Linked DNA regions of Homo sapiens: regions 1 and 3 are each linked to region 2. Evidence: promoter capture Hi-C in human tissues and cell types (Jung and others, 2019). All regions are on one chromosome and are shown on one strand. The core of a region is centred on a gene start or on the middle of the fragment in contact, and the rest is flanking DNA. Distances in the headings are between cores, read along the strand shown.

The links. The method cuts DNA at HindIII sites, captures the fragments that hold promoters and counts their contacts. A contact is called where the count stands out against the background at its distance.
Region 1: a contact is called between a fragment that was not itself captured here and the fragment with the promoter of ECM2 in region 2, in 1 of the 25 tissues and cell types used here (lymphoblastoid cells).
Region 3: a contact is called between a fragment that was not itself captured here and the fragment with the promoter of ECM2 in region 2, in 2 of the 25 tissues and cell types used here (dorsolateral prefrontal cortex and hippocampus).

What each region holds. Positions count from the first base shown.
Region 1 is chr9:92,356,763-92,360,779 of GRCh38, reverse strand. All of the region lies in intron 4 of CENPP (centromere protein P), which reads right to left. Among named protein-coding and RNA genes, the nearest start is that of CENPP, 33 kb to the right of the region's middle. The HindIII fragment of the contact is 6,350 bases long and covers 1-4,017 here.
Region 2 is chr9:92,534,556-92,538,306 of GRCh38, reverse strand. It overlaps ECM2 (extracellular matrix protein 2), which reads left to right and starts at 2,317. Exons shown (of 10, transcript NM_001393.4): 1 at 2,317-2,374. The region is part of intron 5 of CENPP (centromere protein P); the gene reads right to left. The HindIII fragment of the contact is 14,623 bases long and covers 1-3,751 here.
Region 3 is chr9:92,375,329-92,379,335 of GRCh38, reverse strand. The region is part of intron 4 of CENPP (centromere protein P); the gene reads right to left. Among named protein-coding and RNA genes, the nearest start is that of OGN, 27 kb to the left of the region's middle. The HindIII fragment of the contact is 3,555 bases long and covers 304-3,858 here.

The DNA of each region.
Region 1 (4,017 bases), core at 581-3,080, 180 kb after region 2:
TGAGCTGAGATTACGCCATTGCACTCCAGCCTGGGCGACAGCAAGACTCCATCTCAAAAAATAATAATAATAAATAAATAAAAATAAAAAATAAAAATCTGGAGAAATATGACAAACTATTAGCCTTTTCTTAAGTTATTTAAAGTATGTATGACAGTTGAAGTAAAACATTATAATGTTATCTAATGGAGTTTTATTATTATCATTATTATATTTTGAGACAGGGTCTCAGTCTCCCAGGCTAAAGTGCAATAGCATAATCACAGCTCACTGCACTGTCGAACTCCTGGGCTCAAGTAATTCTCCTACCTCAGCCTACCAAGTAGCTGGGACTACGAGTGCACCCCACTACAATAAGCTAATTTTGTTGTTGTTTTTGTAGAGATAGGGTCTTCCTTTGTTGCTCAGACTGGACTAATGGAGTTTTTCAGCACATACATGTGAATATAATTCACATGAAAACTACCACATGAAGCAGGAAGGGGAAGTGATCCATGTGGTTATAGGACCACAAGACTATAACTGCAGTGGTAAAGTATCAAATCTAAATAGACTGTTAAAAGTTAGGTTACGTATGTTATAATCCCCACAGCAGCCAATAAAAAATAATACAAATATAGCCAAAACGTGAATGAAATAAATTAAAAGAGAATATTAAAATATATTTAAAGGAGAGGGTTTTGAGAAGATGACAGAATAGGAAGTACCAGAATTCCATCTCTCCACTTATATAACAATTTCACTGGCAGAATCTGTTTGATATAACCATTTGGAAACTCTGAGTCTAATGAAGGCTGGCAACATCCAGGCAAAGGCTTGGAGAAGGGCTTGGATGGTAAATTGTGATTAATTTTAGCAAATTTCAGCTCTTAGTATAGCAGCAGCTACCCATTTCTTCACCCCCACCCCCCTGGCAGGCAGTCATGTGAGTATAACCAGAGCAGCTTACACACAGCTTATAGAAGCCAGAGCAAGCAAAAAAAAAAAAAGGACCCTGTCCTCCAGCCATAAAGGATCTGTGTTTTGTTCACTGCGGCTTCTTATCACAGAAGTGTAGACAAAGAGTCAGGCAGCCATTGTAGTTACACATCCCCACACTTTTGAAAACCCTGCTTCCTCCAGTTGAAGTGATTTCCAGGGGACTTAAAAGGCCAGAGCTCCTTTTTTCCCACCTTCATTTTCTTCATTTCCCCTTTCTAAGAGCCGAACAATCAAGACTAGGACATTGACAAATAACTGCATATAAGGGGAGATTCTGTAAGAGATTGCACATACCCATGGAAAGCTTCAAGCCCAGAAACAAACTGAGAAGACCTTAAGTTTATACCTCAGGTTAATCCCTGGCACAGAGATGGCCTACAAAAATATGAATAAATAAATAAATAAAATAAATAATAACAATAACAAGCCTGTAAACCCTGGGGAAGAGGGAGAATCTGACTTTGGGGGTTACCACATTATTAGGTTCAAATGAGCCCTTTTCAACAACAATAACAACAAAACACAAGGGATACAAAGAAATATAAAAGAAGGCTGGGCACGGTGGCTCATGCCTGTAATCCCAACACTTTGAAAGGCCAAGGCAGGCGGATCACCTGAGGCCGGGAGTTCAAGACCAGCCTGACCAACATGGCAAAACCCCCTCTCTACTAAAAATACAAAATTAGCTGGGTGTGGTGGCACATGCCTTTAATCCTAGCTACTTGGGAGGCTGAGGCAGGAGAATCGCTTGAACCTGGGAGGCAGAGGTTGCAGTGCACCCAGATCATGCCATTACACTCCAGCCTGGGCAACAAGAGCGAAACTCCATCTCAAAAAAAAAAAAAAGAAAGAAAGAAAAAAAAAGAGATACAAAAGAATGGCCTCGTGAAATGAAAAAAAATAAATGAATAGACAGCATCCCTGAAAAAAAATCTGATGGTAGATCTACCATACAGACTTTACAACCACCATCTTAAAAATGCTAAAGAAAGATCTGGAGAAAGTTAAGAAAATGATACAGGAACACAATAGAAATATCAATACAAAGAAAGAAACCTAAAAGAAAACCAAAAGAAATTCTGGAAGTGAAAAGTACAATAATTAAAATGAAAAATTCACTACAGGAATTCAAAGGCAGATTTGAGTAGGCAGAAAGAAAAATCACCAAACCTGGAGATAGGACAATAGAAATTGTCAAGTCTGAGAAATAAAAAGAAAAAAGAATGAGGAAAAGTGAACAGAATGTAAGGAAACTAGCTGAGCGTGGTGGCTCATGCCTGTAATCCTAGCACTTTGGGAGGCCAAGGTGGGTGGATCACTTGAGGTCAGGAGTTCAAGACCAGCCACACCAACATGGTGAAACCCCATCTCTACTAAAAATACAAAAAATTAGCTGAATGTGGCAGCAGGCACCTGTAATCCCAGCTACTCGGGAGGCTGAGGCAGGAGAATTGCTTGAACCTATGAGGTGGAGGTTGCAGTGAGCTGAGATTGCGCCACTGTACTCTAGCCTGGGTGACAGAGGGAAACTCCATTAAAAAGAAAAAAAAAGAATGTAAGGAAACTGTGGGACATGGGGACATGTCAAGAGAACAAACTACCAACTTCTGCACTGTAGGAGTCTCAGAAAAAAAAAAAAAGAGAGGAAGAAGCAGACAGAATAAAGTGTTAAAACATCCCAAATTTGATGAAAGATATGAATATAAAACATCCAAGAGACTCAAAGAACTCCAAGATGAACTAAGAGATCCACATAGAGAAACATTATAATCAAGCTGTCAAAAGACAAAGACAAAGAGAGAATATCTTGAAAGCAGCAAGAGAAAAGAGACTGGTCACATACAAGGGATGTTCAATAAAATGATCAGCAGATTTTTCATCAGAAAGTATGGAGGCCAGAAGTCAGTGAGGTCATATATTCAAAGTGCTAAAAGAAAAAAAAAAATCTGTCAACCAAGAATTTTCTATTCTGCAAAACTGTCCTTAAAAAGTGAGGGAGATAGTGGCCGGGTGCGGTGGCTCACACCTGTAATCCCACTACTTTCAGAGGCCAAGGCAGGATCACCTGAGGTCGGGAATCGGAGATAAGCCTAACCAACATGGAGAAACACCATCTCTAATAAAAATACAAAAAAAATGAGCCAGGAGTGGTGGCGCATGCCTGTAATCCCAGCTACTTGGGAGGCCGTGGCAGGAGAATCACCTGAACCCGGGAGGCAGAGGTTGCGGTGAGCTGAGATCGCGCCATTGAACTCCAGCCTGGGCAACAAGAGTGAAATTCCATCTCAAAATAATAATAATAATAATAATAATAATAATAATAATAATAATAATAATGAGGGAGATGATCAAAGGGATGTGGCTGGAGAAAAGAAAAATAAAACAAAAAATAAAAAAAGTGCAGGAGAAATTAAGACATTCTCAGGCAAACAAAAGTTGAGGGAGTTGGTTATCATTAAACTTTCTCTGTAAGAAATGGTCAAGAGAATTCTGTAGAGTGAAAGAAAGGACACTAGACAGTAACCTGAAGACATATTAAGAAATAGACTCTTAGAACATATGGAAAAAGGCAAAAGAAGTAAAAAGTTTAAAAAAACAAAAAAAAAGACTCAATAAAGGTAAATACATGTGAAATTATAAAAGCTAGTATTTTTGCAACAATAGTTTGTTACTCTACTTTTTGTTTCCTACATGATTTTACAGACTAATACATTTTTTAAAAATTAGACTAAAAGCTAGTATTAATGTAATTTTCATTTGTGACTCCACATTATTTTCTATGTAATTTAAAAAACTAATGCATTTTAAAGAATTATTAGTTTACATTTTGGGGTGCACAACATATAAATATACAAGTTCATAACATCAATAATTCAAAAGGCTGGGGACTGTTGTAGGAAGTCAGGGACCCCGAACGGAGGGACCAGCTGGAGCTGCGGCAGAGGAACATAAATTGTGAAGATTTCATTTTAAAATGGACATTTATCAGTTCCCAAATAATACTTTTATAATTTCTTACACCTGTCTTTAATCTCT
Region 2 (3,751 bases), core at 1,068-3,567:
TTTGAAAATCTCTTTATTCCTGGTATAGCATGGACAACTATGCATGGTGGTATTAATGGAGTTACTTCTGTTTCTCCAAATAGCTTTATGGTAAGCCCACTTTGTTCTCTATCTATACACAACTGGGTTAACTTTTTTTCTAATCCATGGTTACAGTACTTCAGAGTACTTCCTTGAAGGCACACTTTTGTACAGAAAGAGGTGTTTCTACAATGGGTTCCTAGAGGTGAAATGGTAGGACAGACAGCATAGCTACTGTTCAGCTGTCCTCAAGGAAGAGGAGAGTTTCTGTTTTCCCTACACACTGGCCAACACAGCATATCATCAACATTTTTTTCCCCCAAAAAACAATGTATGTATTTCAAATCAGGCCATGATTTTTGATTAGCAGTGGTCTTCAAGCTTGATTGAGCATTGGCATTATTTGGGTAATTTTTCTACCCCCAAAGTTTTGTCAGCAACATCTCACTATGGTAGTGAAAAAATAACCTTCCTGTTTTAATTTACTTTTCTTGACTGTTACTGAGATTGAGAAATCTTCCTCTTCTGTTTTATTGACCACTGACATTTCCTCTTCTATGAACTGCCTGTTTAATGGTGTTTGCTCATTTGTACTCATCTTTTTCTTTTCTTTTCTTTTCTTTTTTGAGATGTAGTCTCGCTCTGTTGCCCAGGCTGGAGTGCAATGGCACAATCTTGGCTCACTGCAACCTCCGCCTCCTAGGTTCAAGTGATTCTCCTACCTCAGCCTCCTGAGTAGCTGGGACTACAGGCATGTGCTACCATACTCGGCTAATTTTTGTACTGTTAGTAGAGACGGGGTTTCACATGTTGGCCAGGCTGGTCTCAAACTCCTAACCTCAGGTGATCCACCTGTCTCTGCCTCCCAAAGTGCTGGGATTACAGGTGTGAGCCACTGCACTCAGCTAGTTTTACATTTTTAAAAATAGATATCATTTTCCTTATTTTTAGGAAGTTGAGTGGCTTATGTATTTAGTCCCTTATCTTGATTCAGTCTATCTAGGTCATTTTACAAAATCCTGATTCAGTCTAACCACGTCATTTAAACAAATATTTAGCTCCTCTTTGCCAAATGATTTGGACCCCTGAAATAACGATATAAGAATTTCAGGCCAGGTGCGGTGGCTCATGCCTGTAATCCCAGCACTTTGGAAGGCCGAGGTGGGTGGATCACATGAGGTCAAGAGTTCGAGACCAGCCTGGCCAACATGGTGAAACCCCATCTCTACTAAAAAAAAAAATACAAAAATTAATCTGGCATGGTGGCAGGCGCCTTTAAGCCCACCTACTCGGGAAGCTGAGGCAGGAGAATCCCTTGAACCTGGGAGGCGGAGGTTTCAGTGTGCTGAGATCACGACATTGCACTCTAGCCTGGGCAACAGAGCAAAAACTCCCGTCTCAAAAAAAAAAAAAAAATTTAAAAAATAGTTCTAAAATTACCTAGTCTAGGATAGGCACTGAGTTAGGACCTTCATATCTGTTATTCCTTTTATTTTCAGAAAAATTTGAAAGGTATCACCCTAGTTTTACAGAAGAGTGAACTTTGGTCAGAAACATTAAGTAACTTACTCAAGGTCCCTCATAAACAGCAGGGTTGCGCTTGGAATCCTGATCTGTCTCTAACTTCTCATTTGCAGATAAAGAAACTGAGGCCAAAGTACACAACTAATTTGCCAGCGTAACAGGTAATTAGGAGCCACACAGCTCCCTTTCACATTTTCTTTCTATTATTTCATGGTTAGAAGTTACATAATTTCCACTGATATTAATACGTAACCATTTTTTTGTTGTTGTCGTTTTGTTAGTATTGTGTGTGAGATCGAGGTGGGTGGGCAGATGAGTTAAATATTATTAATCCAATTTAAAATAGATTCCAGATATACACAGCCTTTAGCTGACGAGAATATCATCCCTATAATCTGATAAAGCTCAAGTGACATCATCCTGGCTAGTATAAACTTTAACATTTTTAATGCGAATAGTCTATGAAAACCACAGATTTCTTAATCAAGCTCATTTTTGTGTTTCCAACTCTGCCTTTTCAGCCTGCAAACAAAATGCTCTTCCCCCACACCCACTGCTGTTTTCTACTTTTCTTATGATTAAAAAAAATATTTCCCTTGGTAACCATTTTCCCTGGTTACTTTCTTGGCTGATTTTCTGCACAAAGAACTGAAAGGCATTTATCCCCAAGGGAGGCAGTTATTTTAGATTTTACTAAGAAGTTCAGCAAATACTTTTCAACATTCCCTTCTGTCCTTTCTTTGTTTTTAAAGAAAGCTCTGATTTTGTTTCATTTTCAGCTGGAGACTTAAATGACACCAAGCAAAGCCTACTTAGTTTAGATCTCCAGGTAAAAAAGTTTTAAATTTTAAGTTTCTACTTAGCATGTGGAATGGTTTTAATATTTGGGTATTTTATTTCACAACTGTTTAACTCTTGAGTAAATTAGCTCGTTACTAATAGATTTTTAAAGTTCAAAGTATGCATTATTCTGTTTGTTTTTTTCACGATGTACTTCCCAAGTATTTCAGACCTTGTATACTTAGTATTAAATTATTTTTATATGTTTAGGTGGAATTATGTGTTCAATAGAAGTATAAATTGGTTTGAAAATATTATTAATTTTTAAGTCCTAAAAGAACATAAATAATTCAAAATATTTTTCATTTTAAATCTGTTGAATGAAGTGAAAATAGATAATAGACATCTCATGACTTCATGTAGAATTTTAAAATTCTAAATTAATATTTTTAAAGTTTACTTAAGATAACTGGTAAGAAATTTTAAATGAAGAAAAATAAGTTAATCAAGGTTTATAAATAATATTTAATGTTGGGATAAACACAGTAAGTGCTAGAAGGAAAAAAATTACTTGATAAAAATGATACTATGATTGGAATCCCAGAAAATTTACCTCTAGGAGGCAAACACTCAATTACGAAGTTGTTTATGAAAGCAAATATTAAGTGCAAAGCAAAATTCTGTATATCAATGAAAATAATGAGGGCCTAAGCATTAATAGTAAAATTAGTATTGAGAGACCATTTCCTAAAATGTATTTAAACACTGTAGTGAGACTGTTTAGATACTGATTTTGTCAAAATTCAAATAGCTCTGTAAGTTTATTTCTGTGCCTATCTATTTAGATTTCTGGGTAAGTAAAAGTGAGTCAATTTGGGGGAAAAAAAGAAAGAGAGGTAGTTTCCAGAATGAGGATACTGGGAGAGAGGGGTGTGCTCAGAATGGCCACAGCTGGCACATTCACACTCCTAAGCACTCAATCAGGCAATGCCCCATAAGTGAGTGCTTTCAGGATGCCTCAGGACAGCAGGATGCCTGAGACCCTCATGAGAGTTTAACTCTAGAGCCTCGAGGTCTAGGCCCTGACTCCTCACAACAGGATGGAAGGTCTGCACATACAATTGTTAATGCAAGAAAATTTCAATGTATACATTTCATGCATTGCAGAGCACTTATGATATCCATCAGAGCACACTTGCCATGCCACTCAGCAAATTCTAGTTTCACTTTGTCTCTCAGTTCAGGTTTTCATATTGCTTTCCCCTGCTGTTGTTGTTATTCCCTTCCAACATACTACTTTGCTCTCTGAATTGACTTTTATGATTTCAGGTGCCAATCAGCTAATGGATTTGGTCCTTCTTTACATGCTGCATGTTAATTTTTCTAAAACTAAAGTAGATTGCAAAAAGTTGTTCAAAAAGTTGTT
Region 3 (4,007 bases), core at 832-3,331, 160 kb after region 2:
CTGGAGGCTGTTCACCAGGAAAACACATCAAACACATCACCAAACACATCATTTGAGGGCTAACCAGGAGCACAGCAGAACTTCCTGGTTGATGAATACACTGATGTACTGGGAGGATAATGTGTCTGGATTCCACAAGGAATCTCTGTCTCCCCAACCCCCAGACCTTCGTCTATGCATTACTTCCATTTGGCTGTGTCTGGGTTGTATCCTTCATAATAAAATGCTAATTGTAAGTATAGTGTTTTCAGTACGTTCTGTGAGCGGTTCTAGCAAATTATTAAACCTGAGAGATATGTGGGAACTCCAGAATTTATGGCCAGTTGGTCCTAACTGCAGGTGGACCTTGATACTTGCAGCTGGAGTGTGAAGTGGAGGCACTCCTGGTGGAGACCTCTGCCTATAACTTGTGGGGTCTGTTAGTGTGAGAACTGAACTGAGCTGCAGGACATCCAGTTGGTGACAGAGAACCATTGTCAGAACAATTACCACACCACCACACCACGTATCCTATTCCCTAACAGCTAGAAATAATCTCACTCCTTTGCCTAGGAGAACTCTCACAGGAATGAGTCTTAATTCTCTTAATAGTACATCTATGTTAATAATGTAAGCCACATACACCACAAGTAACTTGAAGGCAAGAACCATGTATCATTTAATCACTCATTTGATAAATGATTGCGGGAGTTGAGTTCCTGTACCAGTAATGATAGAGTAAGCATATTCCACCCCAATGCTTCCGTTAACTATAATTTAAAACCATGAACACAGCACATAAAGCAAACATCAGAAACTCTGAAATGTGGAATGAAGAAAGCAGGACAGGTAGAGTCTTCAGGAATCAAGGGAGGACCTGGAAAAGAATTCCTTAGGATTTATTTTTGCCTCCTGTATATCCCAGTCTGTACACAGGAGCAAACTGCAACCCAGAATTACCAAAGGGTACATTAACAACAACAATAACCCAAAAGGCCCCAGGAAAGACCATTCCCTCTAACCAACGGAGATCATGCAAAATGAGAAGAAACAGGCCTGGCAGAAGGGAACCCCAATGCCAAAAAGGAGCTGTGCCCCTTTCACTCCTAATCAGGCACTTTAGCCACAGAGGCTGAGGTGTGAAGCCTGTCAACCATCACTGCCAACAATAAGAAAAGCAGGCAAAGCAGAGTCCTCACCTCCCAATCGGGTACTGCTATTGGAAAGACTGAGAGAGGAAGCTTTGTCAGCTAGCCCCAACTGACACCAAGCAAACATAAGCAAAGAAAGGATGTCATTTCTGATCTCAACCAGCATGGCAGCTGCACACACAGTGGGTTGCTCTGTTAACTTTCCACACCCTGCACTTAAGTCATCCCAAGAAGAGATAAGGGAGAATCAGAGAAGAGGAGCCTTCAGACAAGAATCTTTTACATCTGTTTATGAAATCCTAAATAACCCCTACATAAAACGAACCAGAATCTACACAGAAAAAAAATACTGAGAACTGAATTATAGTATAGAATAATTTCCAGAATTCACATTGGCCTCAGGATAGTACATAAGTAGGGCAGACCACAATAGGATATTGAACTACAGACTAAAGTGGGCTAGGGTGTGCTTTTGAATTAGAAATTCAACAATAAGAACAAAAAAATTTTGGCAAAATAGGAAGTGCTGGGGTCATCCTGTCTCAGAAACACTGAAAACTACTGCATAGCTGTCAGAATCACTTTTACTGGAATTTGGGAAGAGAGTAAAAAGCTTACAACTGAGAAAACACTTAATCAGAAAAAGGGCAACTGAAAAAGGCTAAGAGCGTTTTGTAGTACTGTAAGATACCCTTGCCACACTCCCTACCTGGCCACAGTAGCAGTCTTAAAGATAGCATGCTACTTTACTAGCCTGAGAACCTAATCCTGACAACAGTCAAAGGGATCTTATTCTCAAGGAATTGTTTGTCTTGACTTGGTTCCCAAGTAAAAGAGACCTCATTCCCAAGGAATCGTTTTGATTCAAGGGGTCTGACTGCATTTCAGCTAAGTCAGAACTTTCTTGCAATTGATACAGGAGCTAGAAAGAAATTATTTAGGTAGATAGTGAGGGTTAAGGAGCCCTCAGAAAGGCTTCCCTTTTAATAAAAAGCAGCCCCCAAATCATTTCTTTTCTAACAAAGAGCAGCCTGAAAAATAGAGCTGCAAACATAGATAAGCAAGCTAGAAGTTTGCACAGGTAAATGCTCTGCAATAGAAAAGGGATACCTGGAAGCCAAGTATGTTAAACATGGAGGCTCCATCTTCCCTTTTCTTTCTTTTTTTTTTTTTGAGACTAAGTCTCACTCTGGAGTGCAGTGGTGCAATCTCGGCTCACCAAAACCTCCGCTTCCTGGGTTCAAGTGATTCTCCCGCCTCAGCCTCCCAAGCAGCTGGGATTACAGGCGTGCGCCATGATGCCTGGCTAATTTTTTTGTGTATTTTTAGTACAGACAGGGTTTCACCATATTGGCCAGGCTGGTCTCGAACTCCTGACCTCAGGTGATCTGCCCACCTTGGCCTCCCAAAGTGCTGGGATTACAGGCGTGAGCCACTGCACCTGGTCTCCATCTTCCCTTTTCTTTGTCACCACGTGTACAGTAAAAAAGCAGGCAACATGGCGCTGGCCCAGTAGAGAACCCATCTGCATAATAAAAGATTAGGGTGGGGCGGCCAGCTTCTTCACATCCTATGCAAGCGGTACACCTGGTCTGACCAATTTTTTGTGCCCTATGTAAATCAGACACTGCCTCCTCAAGCTCATCTGTAAAACCTGCATTTGACTGTGGAAGCGGCAACCCATTTTCTCTGGGACCCCTCTCTGTGCAGACAGCTCCTCTCCTTCTTTCACCTATTAAATATCCACTCTTAACCTCACAGTGGTGTGTTCATGTCCTGGTTTTCCGTGGCTGTGGGACAATGAACCTTGGGTATTACCCCAGACAACAATGCTGCTTCACCATGAAGACATAGCTACACAGGGGATGTTTTTCAAAAATACTAAAAGGCAAATTAACAAGTTGCTGCTGTGTAGGGCAAAAGCACAGTTGAGACAAACAACAGATATGCTGAAAGCCAAGGAAAGAAAAGGTAGGGAATGAGAATCTTTGGGGAATAAAGTCTTGGAAAAAGTGCTCAAGTATACCAGGGAACTAGAAAGCCACTTGAATGCTCAGGGCAGAATGCATGCTTAGAAGAGATCTGAGGGGAGCATAACTTCAACCTCTGGCTAATCTCTAGGCTAAGGACAGGACTAAGGCAGGGTTGTGAAAGACCTGGCTAAGCACTGAAGTAGTGTCCCCATACAGAACCAAAATGCACAGACCTGGAGAAGATATCTTTTTTTCTTATTTTTTTCCTTTTTGCCCATCATAATATTCAAAATGTACAGTATTTAATGACAATAACAAAAAACTAAGCATGCAAAGAAACAAGAAAATATGGCCCAGTCATAGGAAAAAAAAAAAAAGAAATTAACAGAAACTTCTCCTGTTGAATGACTAGGGGAATTACTAGGCTATGATTTTAAATCAACTGTCTTAAATATGTTTAGAGAACTCAAGAAAATCAAGAGAACAAAGTATGCAACAAACAGGAAATGGCAATAAAGAGAGAAATTTTTTTAAAAGAAATAGAAATTTTAGAACTGAAAAGTACAACAAATGAAATTAAAAATTCACTAAAGGGGCTCAACAGCAGATTTGAGTGGGCATAAGAATCAGTAAAAATGGCCGGGCGCGGTGGCTCACGCCTGTAATCCCAGCACTTTGGGAGGCCGAGGTGGGCGGATCTCAAGGTCAGGAGTTTGAGACCAGCCTAGCTAATGTGGTGAAACCCCATCTCTATTAAAAAAAAACCACAAAAATTAGCCGGGCGTGGTGGTGTGTGCCTGTAATCCCAGCTACTCAGGAGGCTGAGGCAGGAGAATCCCTTGAACCCAGGAGGCAGAGGTTGCAGCGAACTGAGATTGCGGCACTGCGCTCCAGCCTGGGCAAT